2 separate regions of the Homo sapiens genome follow, and region 2 is linked to region 1. The links are contacts of gene promoters, found by promoter capture Hi-C in blood cells and fetal thymus (Javierre and others, 2016). All regions are on one chromosome and are shown on one strand. The core of a region is centred on a gene start or on the middle of the fragment in contact, and the rest is flanking DNA. Distances in the headings are between cores, read along the strand shown. Region 1 holds the start of RAPGEFL1 (Rap guanine nucleotide exchange factor like 1). Region 2 overlaps MED24 (mediator complex subunit 24).

What was found. The method cuts DNA at HindIII sites, captures the fragments that hold promoters and counts their contacts. A CHiCAGO score of 5 or more calls a contact.
Region 2: a contact is called between a fragment that was not itself captured here and the fragment with the promoter of RAPGEFL1 in region 1, in 16 of 17 cell types (megakaryocytes, M0 macrophages, M1 macrophages and 13 more). The highest score is 13.9, in megakaryocytes.

The regions. Positions count from the first base shown.
Region 1 is chr17:40,175,111-40,179,209 of GRCh38, reverse strand. RAPGEFL1 (Rap guanine nucleotide exchange factor like 1) reads right to left here and starts at 1,740. Exons shown (of 15, transcript NM_016339.6): 1 at 829-1,740. The coding sequence starts at 1,348. RefSeq lists enhancers at 1-611, 612-1,468, 1,860-2,360, 2,361-2,861 and a silencer at 1,699-1,828. The HindIII fragment of the contact is 3,169 bases long and covers 1-2,822 here.
Region 2 is chr17:40,028,065-40,032,163 of GRCh38, reverse strand. It overlaps MED24 (mediator complex subunit 24), which reads left to right. Exons shown (of 26, transcript NM_014815.4): 10 at 74-121; 11 at 544-626; 12 at 919-1,005; 13 at 2,305-2,416; 14 at 3,196-3,338. Among named protein-coding and RNA genes, the nearest start is that of SNORD124, 2.5 kb to the right of the region's middle. The HindIII fragment of the contact is 4,950 bases long and covers 1-4,099 here.

The DNA.
Region 1 (4,099 bases), core at 491-2,990:
CTGTAGTCCCAGCTACTCAGGAGGCTGAGGCAGGAGAATCGCTTGAACCTGGGCGGTGGAGGTTGCAGTGAGCTGAGATGGCGCCACTGCACTCCAGCCTGGGTGACAGTGAGACTACATCTCCAAAAGAAAAAAAAAAAAAAGCCGGGTGCTGAGGCCTGCCACCGAAGGGTGGAAGCTGGAGGCGCTTGGACACCCTGGATGCTGCAGGGCCATGATGCCGGCCCAGCCACCTCTCCCCTCCCAGACACCTTCTGAGTCCAGCCCAAGGAGAATACTATCCCCCCCACCAAACTGCTAAGGACAACGCATCCCTTTGCTGATGCCTAAAAGGCAGCTTGGGGCCTGTGCCTGTCTGGCACTGCCTCCCTGGGTGGGTCAGCCTGCGCTGTGTAGGCCTCTGAACAGTCAGGGACCCCAGGGTTTTCAGGGCTAAAGCACCTCTGGCGGGTGGCATGGCTGCGCTGGGCAGCTCCCATTTTAATGTGTCAGGCCCTAATTTGGGGCCACAGGAGGAGGTATTCAACATCAGGGACCCATGGGAGTCAGTGGCTCCAATGCCCAGGGGAAAGGAAGGGTGGCTGAAGGAGAGTAAGAGGCTCAGCTGCTTCTCCAGACGAGGGTGAGGCTGCTGTAGGGAGGAAGGTGAGTACTGCTCTCCTCTTCCGCGGGAGGGTCTGTACCTCCGCTAGGCCCCTAGCCGGCTTCCGCGGACCACTCAACCCTATAACCAAGCCCCGGCACGGCGCCACCCCTACGCTCCAAGGGCAAGGAAGAGGAGCCGGGGCCAGCCCCTGCTCTGGGTGTTCGAGCCCACCGGCTCCTTACCTGAGGCGGCGCTGTCCCTGGTAGCCCCTCCAGCAAGCCGCTCCAGAACCCGGTTCAGAAGATGCTCGGGCCGCTCGGGGGCGCCCAGAGGGGCCCAGGGCGGCGAAGTCAAGGGCTCGCCTGGGGACAGCTCGTCAGATGAGTAGGAGGAAGGGGAGCGCAGGGGCCCCCCTCCCCCGAGAGGCCCGGGCCCCGGCACCTCCTCCAGCTGCAGCCAGCAGGGCCCCCCGCTGCCCGGCTCCTCCGCGACCCCCGCCGGCTCTCCTCCTTCCTCCTCAGGGGGCGGCTCCAGCCCCGGCTCGGCGGGGGGCTCCCGGAGGAAAGCGGGGAGCAGCAGGCGAGACACGCTCTGACGCCGCTGCAACGACCGCTGTCCCCCGGCTGGACCGCCGCCCCCGCCGGGTCCCCCACCCCCTCCAGGCCCACCGCAGCTCCCCAGACCCCCGCCGGGACCTCCCGCCACCGTTCGGCCCGCCAGCTGCGACGTCTGCTTCTTCAGAAATTTCTCCAGCGGCTTCATGCCCCCCCCCGCCCCTCTCCTAGGGGTCGCCGGGGGACCCAGGTATCCCAGGCGCGGGCGGGGGGGGCGGCGAAGACACGATGCTCAGAGCTGGAGGAGCAGAGTAGAGGGCCGTGCCAGGCGCCAGACTGGGGGCCAGAGGGGCCGAGCCTCGCTGGCCAGAGTCCAGTGGCCAGTAGCCGGGGGAGGTGCCAGAGGAAAGGAGTGCTCGCTCTCAGCAACCCCCCATGCCGGCTGCAGCCGGCACGCGGCCCGAAGAGTGGGCAGGCTGCGGGGCCGGTGCGCCCGGCTCTGCGCTGCGGCGGCAGAGGCAGCGGGCGGAGCGCAAGGCTGAGAGGACGCGGCGGCGGCGGCGGCGGCGGCTGCGCTCCTGGCCGTGAAGAGGGGGAAGGTGGCAGAACCGAGACCGCGCCCCCTCCTCCAGTCCCCGCCCAGTCCCCGCCCCTACCCTTCCTCGGCTCGCCCCCGCGCCGCACGAGGCTTGAACTCGCGCGCTGGGGTTGACCGCGAGGGAAACAGTAAGGGACTTGGGTTCTAAGCAGAAGAAATTAAGGGCAAAGGTAAGTCAGAGATTTACCAATGGGGAAGGATTCCTGGCTCAAGGGATAACCGGGTCTCAGCATCATTTCAAAGAGTCAGGACAGGTCTGTGGCCTGGACACCTTCACTCACCTACCTGTGTACCCAAGTCAGGCCTACAGATTGCTGAACCCAAGAGTGTGCACCTTTCTCATACTCACAGAAATATGTGGAGTTTATCTTCCTTCTGTGAGAAGAGCTGGGAAGGCCTCTTGGGTGAATTAGCATTGCCACTGGAGGCGGTGCCCATCTGTCCTCTCTGGTAGGGCACAATAGGTGGTGTGGGCCTGGTCTGTGGGCAGGTACTGGCAGGCAGGTAGGAGCCAGGCAGGGAGCAGCAGGTTGTGGCAGGTCTAGCTGGGGTGAGGAGGGGATAATAGGCAGTGGGGAGGAGACCAGGAGCACAAGGGCACCTGAGCCCAGCTGGCAGCAGAAGGAAGCAGGGCCATGGAGACAGGTGACAAGCCCCAGAACTGCCGACTATCATCAAGCACAGAGCCCAAGTGTACATGGCCATGGAGTGGGAAAAGTGGTGCCAATTAGCACTCCAAGTAATCCTTACTCCTGATGCCCACACCAGGAGCATTCTGTCCTTAAGGATATGCTGCCCCAGAAGGAGTGTGGGGGAGGAGGGGGGTGCATCGTAAAGCCATGCTAAGTGTGAGAACATCCAGGTTAGACTTACAAGGTGTGGGAGTGGCAGCAGGTTCTCGATGGGTTGAGGCTCTCTGGACAATGCCCCACCCCTGTTTACCGAGCACCAACCAGGCAGAGACAGGAATGCTAATGGCTGGGAGTGGTAGTAAAACTGAACAGGGTGTGTATGACATACGTATCAATGTATGTGCATATCTGTTCCCATGTGTGCTAGAGCATGTGTTCACAGAAATAAAGCTTTGCACACCCATCTGTTTGTGGATTTGGAAACAGTAAAAAGAAGACAGCGCACAATTTTGGCTAAGAAGCTGTATTAGAGGTCTGAGTATCAGCTTCCTGTGCTCCCCTTATTGGACACTCCAATATCCCCTGGCTTGAAAGGGGAAAGTGGCTGGAATGGGTTGGAGCTCCCCAGGTAGCATTTTATGAACTGAATAGGAAGAGGGAAGGGCTTCTCTCCCAGCACATGCCACAGTTACCAGATTAAGCCGGTTGCCTTGGTAACCTTCTCTCTGGGCAGGATTTGGGAATTGTTGGTTAGGAAGGGCGAATTGGGGAGTGTGAAGGGTGTAGGGGGTTGAAAATAAAACAGACTGAGAGACTTCTGGAAGCTAGAAGCTTGGGACACAGGACCCCAGTACTCCCCCAAATGCTCAAGGATGTCAGGCAGAGACTAAGTTCAACATTTTGAATCAGTGAGGAGAGCCAGCATCAAGTCATGGTCCTCCTGGAGTGGCAGTGGTTTTCACCCTGACTACACACTGGAATCACAGGGAAGCTTCTCAGAAATACTGATGCTGGCTGGGCTTGGTGGCTCACGCCTGTAATCTCAACACTTTGGGAAGCCAAGGCGGGCAGATCACTTGAGGTCATGAGTTCAAGACCAGCCTGACCAACATGGTGAAACCCCACTTCTAAAAATACAAAAAAAATTAGCCGGGCATGGTGGCACACACCTGTAATCCAAGCTACTTTGGAGGCTGAGGTAGAAGGATTGCTTGAACCTGGGAGGTGAAGGTTGCAGTGAGCTGTTATCATGCCACTGCACTCCAGCCTGGGTGAGAGACTCCATATTAAAAAAAAAAAAAAAATACTGGCCAAGTGCAACAGCTCACGCCTATAATCCCGGTACTTTGGGAGGCCGAGAAGGGTGCAACATGAGGTCAGAAGTTCGAGACCAGTCTGGCCAACATAGTGAAACCCTGTCTCTACTAAAAATACAAACATTTGCTGGGCATGGTGGCTGGTGCCTGTAATCTCAGCTACTCAGGAGGCTGAGGCAGGAGAATCGCTTGAACCCGGGAGGTGGAGGCTGCAGTGAGCCGAGATCATGCCACTGCACTCCAGCCTGGGCAACAAGAGCAAGACTGTCTCAAAAAAAAAAAAAACAAACAAACAAAAAAAAAACTGATGCCTAGGCCATATCTCAGACCAATTAAATCAGATTTCTGAACCAGGGCGAAGGCTTATGGTATTTTTTAAAAAGCTCCTCACATGACACAAATGGCCAGGATTG
Region 2 (4,099 bases), core at 669-3,168, 150 kb after region 1:
GGGATGCCTTCAGGGGTAGATGAAAGAGAAAAGAAATGGATCTTCCTGTTTTTCCCCCTGCCTCACCCCCTAGATTCCACAGGTTTTGGTGAAGTTGAAGAAGTACTCTCATGGAGACAAGGTGAGTTGGGGATTGAGATGGAGGCATGGGAGCAGAAATAAGGGCAAAGGGGAGGGTCCTTCAGGCCCCAGCTGGGCAGTGTTCTCATGCCTGGAAGAGAGCCGGATGTGAGTGTACACCTCAGCGTGCACGTGCTTCACAATGTGCATGCTTCAGCATGTGCGTGTGCTTCAGCATGTGCGTGTGCTTCAGTGTGTGCGTGCTTCAGTGTGTGTGTTTCAGCGTGTGTGTGCTTCAGCGTGTACGTGTGCTTCAGCCAGTGTGTGTGCTTCAGCGTCTGCGTGCACCCACAACATACACCCAGGCTCCAGGCAGAAAGCAGCCAGGCAACTCAGGCCGATGCCTCCAGCAGACAAGGTTGCCTGAGATGATCAGGGCCTGGTGGCCCTGGAAACCAGATGGACACTTCTGCCTCTTTCTAGGACTTCACTGAGGATGTCAACTGTGCTTTTGAGTTCCTGCTGAAGCTCACCCCCTTGTTGGACAAAGCTGACCAGCGCTGCAAGTATGAGCTCCCCTGGTCACCCCCGCCCTACTGGAAGGCGTTCTGGGCTCTTCCCCTGATCTCTGTGCCAGAGAAGCCTCAGGGGACTCTGTCTCCTTGTTCACTCCCCTTGGCAGGGGCAGGAAATAGGAGCCCACAGTTGCCAAGTCCCCAGAGCCCCTCTACCGTCCCTCAGGCACTCCAGATTTTCCTCATCCTGAAAGAGGGAGGATGCTGCTCAGGGACCTGCCACTCCCACCCCTCACCATCCTATCCAGGTGCCCAGTTCCCTCAGCATCTTTCTCCCTCACAGCTGTGACTGTACAAACTTCCTGCTCCAAGAATGTGGCAAGCAGGGGCTTCTGTCTGAGGCCAGCGTCAACAACCTTATGGCTAAGCGGTAAGTGTGAACGCACCTGTGCTACCCCAAGAGCCCCTTGACCTCTCTCTTGTTACGGTGGGGCTGCTGCGTGCCTTTCAACCTCCTGTCGAAAGTTTGGGCTGCAAGTGACTGGGACCGTGCCTGGGGGTACAGGGAACAGGAAGGAAAAGAAAGCACAGATGTCTTCAGACCAGAGTTTTACACTCTTAGTCACTGCTCTTTAACTCATACCCATCTTTGTGATAAAAGTAAAAATCCTAGGCTGGAGGCGGGTGGATTACTTGGAGGCCAGGAGTTCAAGACCAGCCTGCCCAACATGGCAAAACCCCATGTCTACTAAAAATACAAAAATCAGCTGGGCGTGGTGGTGTGTGCCTGTAATCTCAGCTACTCTGGAGGCTGAGGCACGAGAATTGCTTGAACCCAGGAGGCGGAGATTGTGGTGAGGCGAAATCATGCCACTGCACCCCAGCCTGGGCGATAGAGTGAGACCTTGTCTCAAAAAAAAAATAAATAAATAAATAAAAATCCTGAATCTTCCTTTAATCTTAAATGTGCTTTCAGAGCATTTAAGACTAATGATAGGCCGGCTGCGGTGGCTCACACCTGTAATCCCAGCATTTGGGAGGCCAAGGCGGGTGGATCACGAGGTCAGGAGTTTGAGACCAGCCTGGCCAACGTGGTGAAACCCCATCTCTACTAAAAATACAAAAATTAATCAGGCGCGATGGTATGCACCTGTAATTCCAGCTACTCAGGAGGCTGAGGCAGGAGAATCACTTGAACCCGGAAAGCAGAGGTTGTACTGAGCTGAGATCGCGCCACTGCATTCCAGCCTGGGTGACAGAGCGAGACTCTGTCTCAAAAAAAAAAAAGACTAATGATAAATTGCCAGGTGTGCTGGCTCACCTGTAATCCCAGGACTTTGGGAAGCCAAGGTGGGTGGATCACCTGAGGTCAGGAGTTTGAGACCAGTAGAACATGGTGAAACCCCGTCTCTACTAAAAATACAAAAAAGTAGCCAGGCGTGGTGGTGAGCGCCCAGCTACTCTGGAGGCAGAGGCTGCAGTGAGCCGAGATCGTGCCACTGTACTCCAGCCTGGGCAACAGAGTGAGACCTGTCTCAAAAAAAAAGACTAATGCTAAATCAGTGATTGCAACATTGACTATGCTTCCATAAACTTCACCCCAACCTCGGAGGTTCTTACATGCTTCCCACCTCCTCTGCGCATTTCCTTCCGGGCTTGAACGAGGGAACGTGTCAAGAATTTCTCTTCATTCCTCTTCCCTTCCTTGGCCAACTGGTGATGTCCACAGCAAAGCGGACCGAGAGCACGCACCCCAGCAGAAATCGGGAGAGAATGCCAACATCCAGCCCAACATCCAGCTGATCCTCCGGGCGGAGCCCACTGTCACAAACATCCTCAAGGTGAGTGTGCCCTTCCCTGGCCACCACAGTCTTCTCTTTCTTCTTTCCAGTGCTCCATCTGCTTGCAGATAAATAAACAGAGGCCACAGACCTCTGTCTCCTTTAGCTTTTATACATAGTTGCTTTGGAGGTAGTGAAAGGGGAGGCAAGGGCAGCTACCACTGAATGCTAACCCGTGGGAGCTTCATTTGTACACCAGGCACTGCAGTAGGCGCTTTCACTTAGGCCATCTCACATGGAAACAACAGAGACGTGGGTGCGGTGGCTCACGCCTGTAATCCCAGCATTTTGGGAGGCTGAGGTGGGAAGATCCCTTGAGGTCAGGAGTTTGAGACCAGCTTGGCCAGCGTGGTGAAACCCAGTCTCTACTAAAAACACAAAATTCACTGGGTGTGGTGGTGCATGCCTGTAATCCCAGTTACTTGGGAGGCTGAGGCAGGAGAATCGCTGAACCCTGGGGGGCAGAGGTTGCAGTGAGCCAAGATCGCACCACTGCACTCCAGCCTCAGCGATAGAGCGAGACTCTGTCTAAAAAAGGAAAGGACAGAGAAGATCCTAGCCGTGACCTTGCCCACTCCAACCTTACCACCTGCATGCCAGTGTAGATGAGAGGGATGGATCGGAGAGCAGGGGTGGGTTTTAGGAATGATTTTCCAGATTGAAGTCAGAAAGATGTAGATTACATTCCAGGTTGTGAAGAGAGAAAATGTGGCTAGGCTGTATCTTGGGTGGGGGGTCTTCAGTGTTCTTCAGGACTTGATTTCCTGTCCTGTCCCCAGACGATGGATGCAGACCACTCTAAGTCACCGGAGGGACTGCTGGGAGTCCTGGGCCACATGCTGTCCGGGAAGAGTCTGGACTTGCTGCTGGCTGCCGCCGCCGCCACTGGAAAGCTGAAATCCTTCGCCCGGAAATTCATCAAGTGAGGAAGGCCAAGCCCCTGACCCCAGGGCGTGCAGGGAGGCTGCGCGTTGGGAGGAGGTAGCAGGGTAGGAGTCAGGTGCCTGGGTCTGGGTCTCATCCAGAGACCCACGGGCCTAGGCAGAGCATCCTGGCTGGAGATCTTGGAGGAAGGGCCTGTTCTCACGACCTAAGTGTTCCTTTCTCTTCAGCTGAGGATGGAGTGGACATGTTTGGTAAAGAGATGAGGGTAAGGGTTGAGGTGTTGAACATTGGGCATGGAGGAATTCCAAGTATGCCCAGTTATTAATAAGGGGCTCTCAAATTCTGTTGCCTTTTTTGATTGCCCTGGAATTTGACATATATAGAACATGGTTCCATTCAGTGAGCCATTCTCTAGGCCTTGGAAATCTTCTAACAATAAAAATCCTTCTGGCCGGGTGCGGTGGCTCACGCCTGTAATCCTAGCACTTAGGGAGGCCAAGGTGGGCGGATCACCTGAGGTCAGGAGTTCAAGACCGGCCTGGCCAACTTGGTGAAACCCTGTCTCTACTAAAAATACAAAAAATTAGCCGGGTGTGGTGGCGGGCACCTGTAATCCCAGCTACTTGGGAGACTGAGGCAGAAGAATTGCTTGAACAGAGGCGGAGGTTGCAGTGAGCTGAGATTGTGCCACTGCACTCCAGCCTGGGTGACAGAGCGAGACTCTTTCTCAAAAAAAACAAAAAAAAAACAAAAAACAAAAACCACAAAAACCTTTTTTCTATAGCAATGTGTCTCATT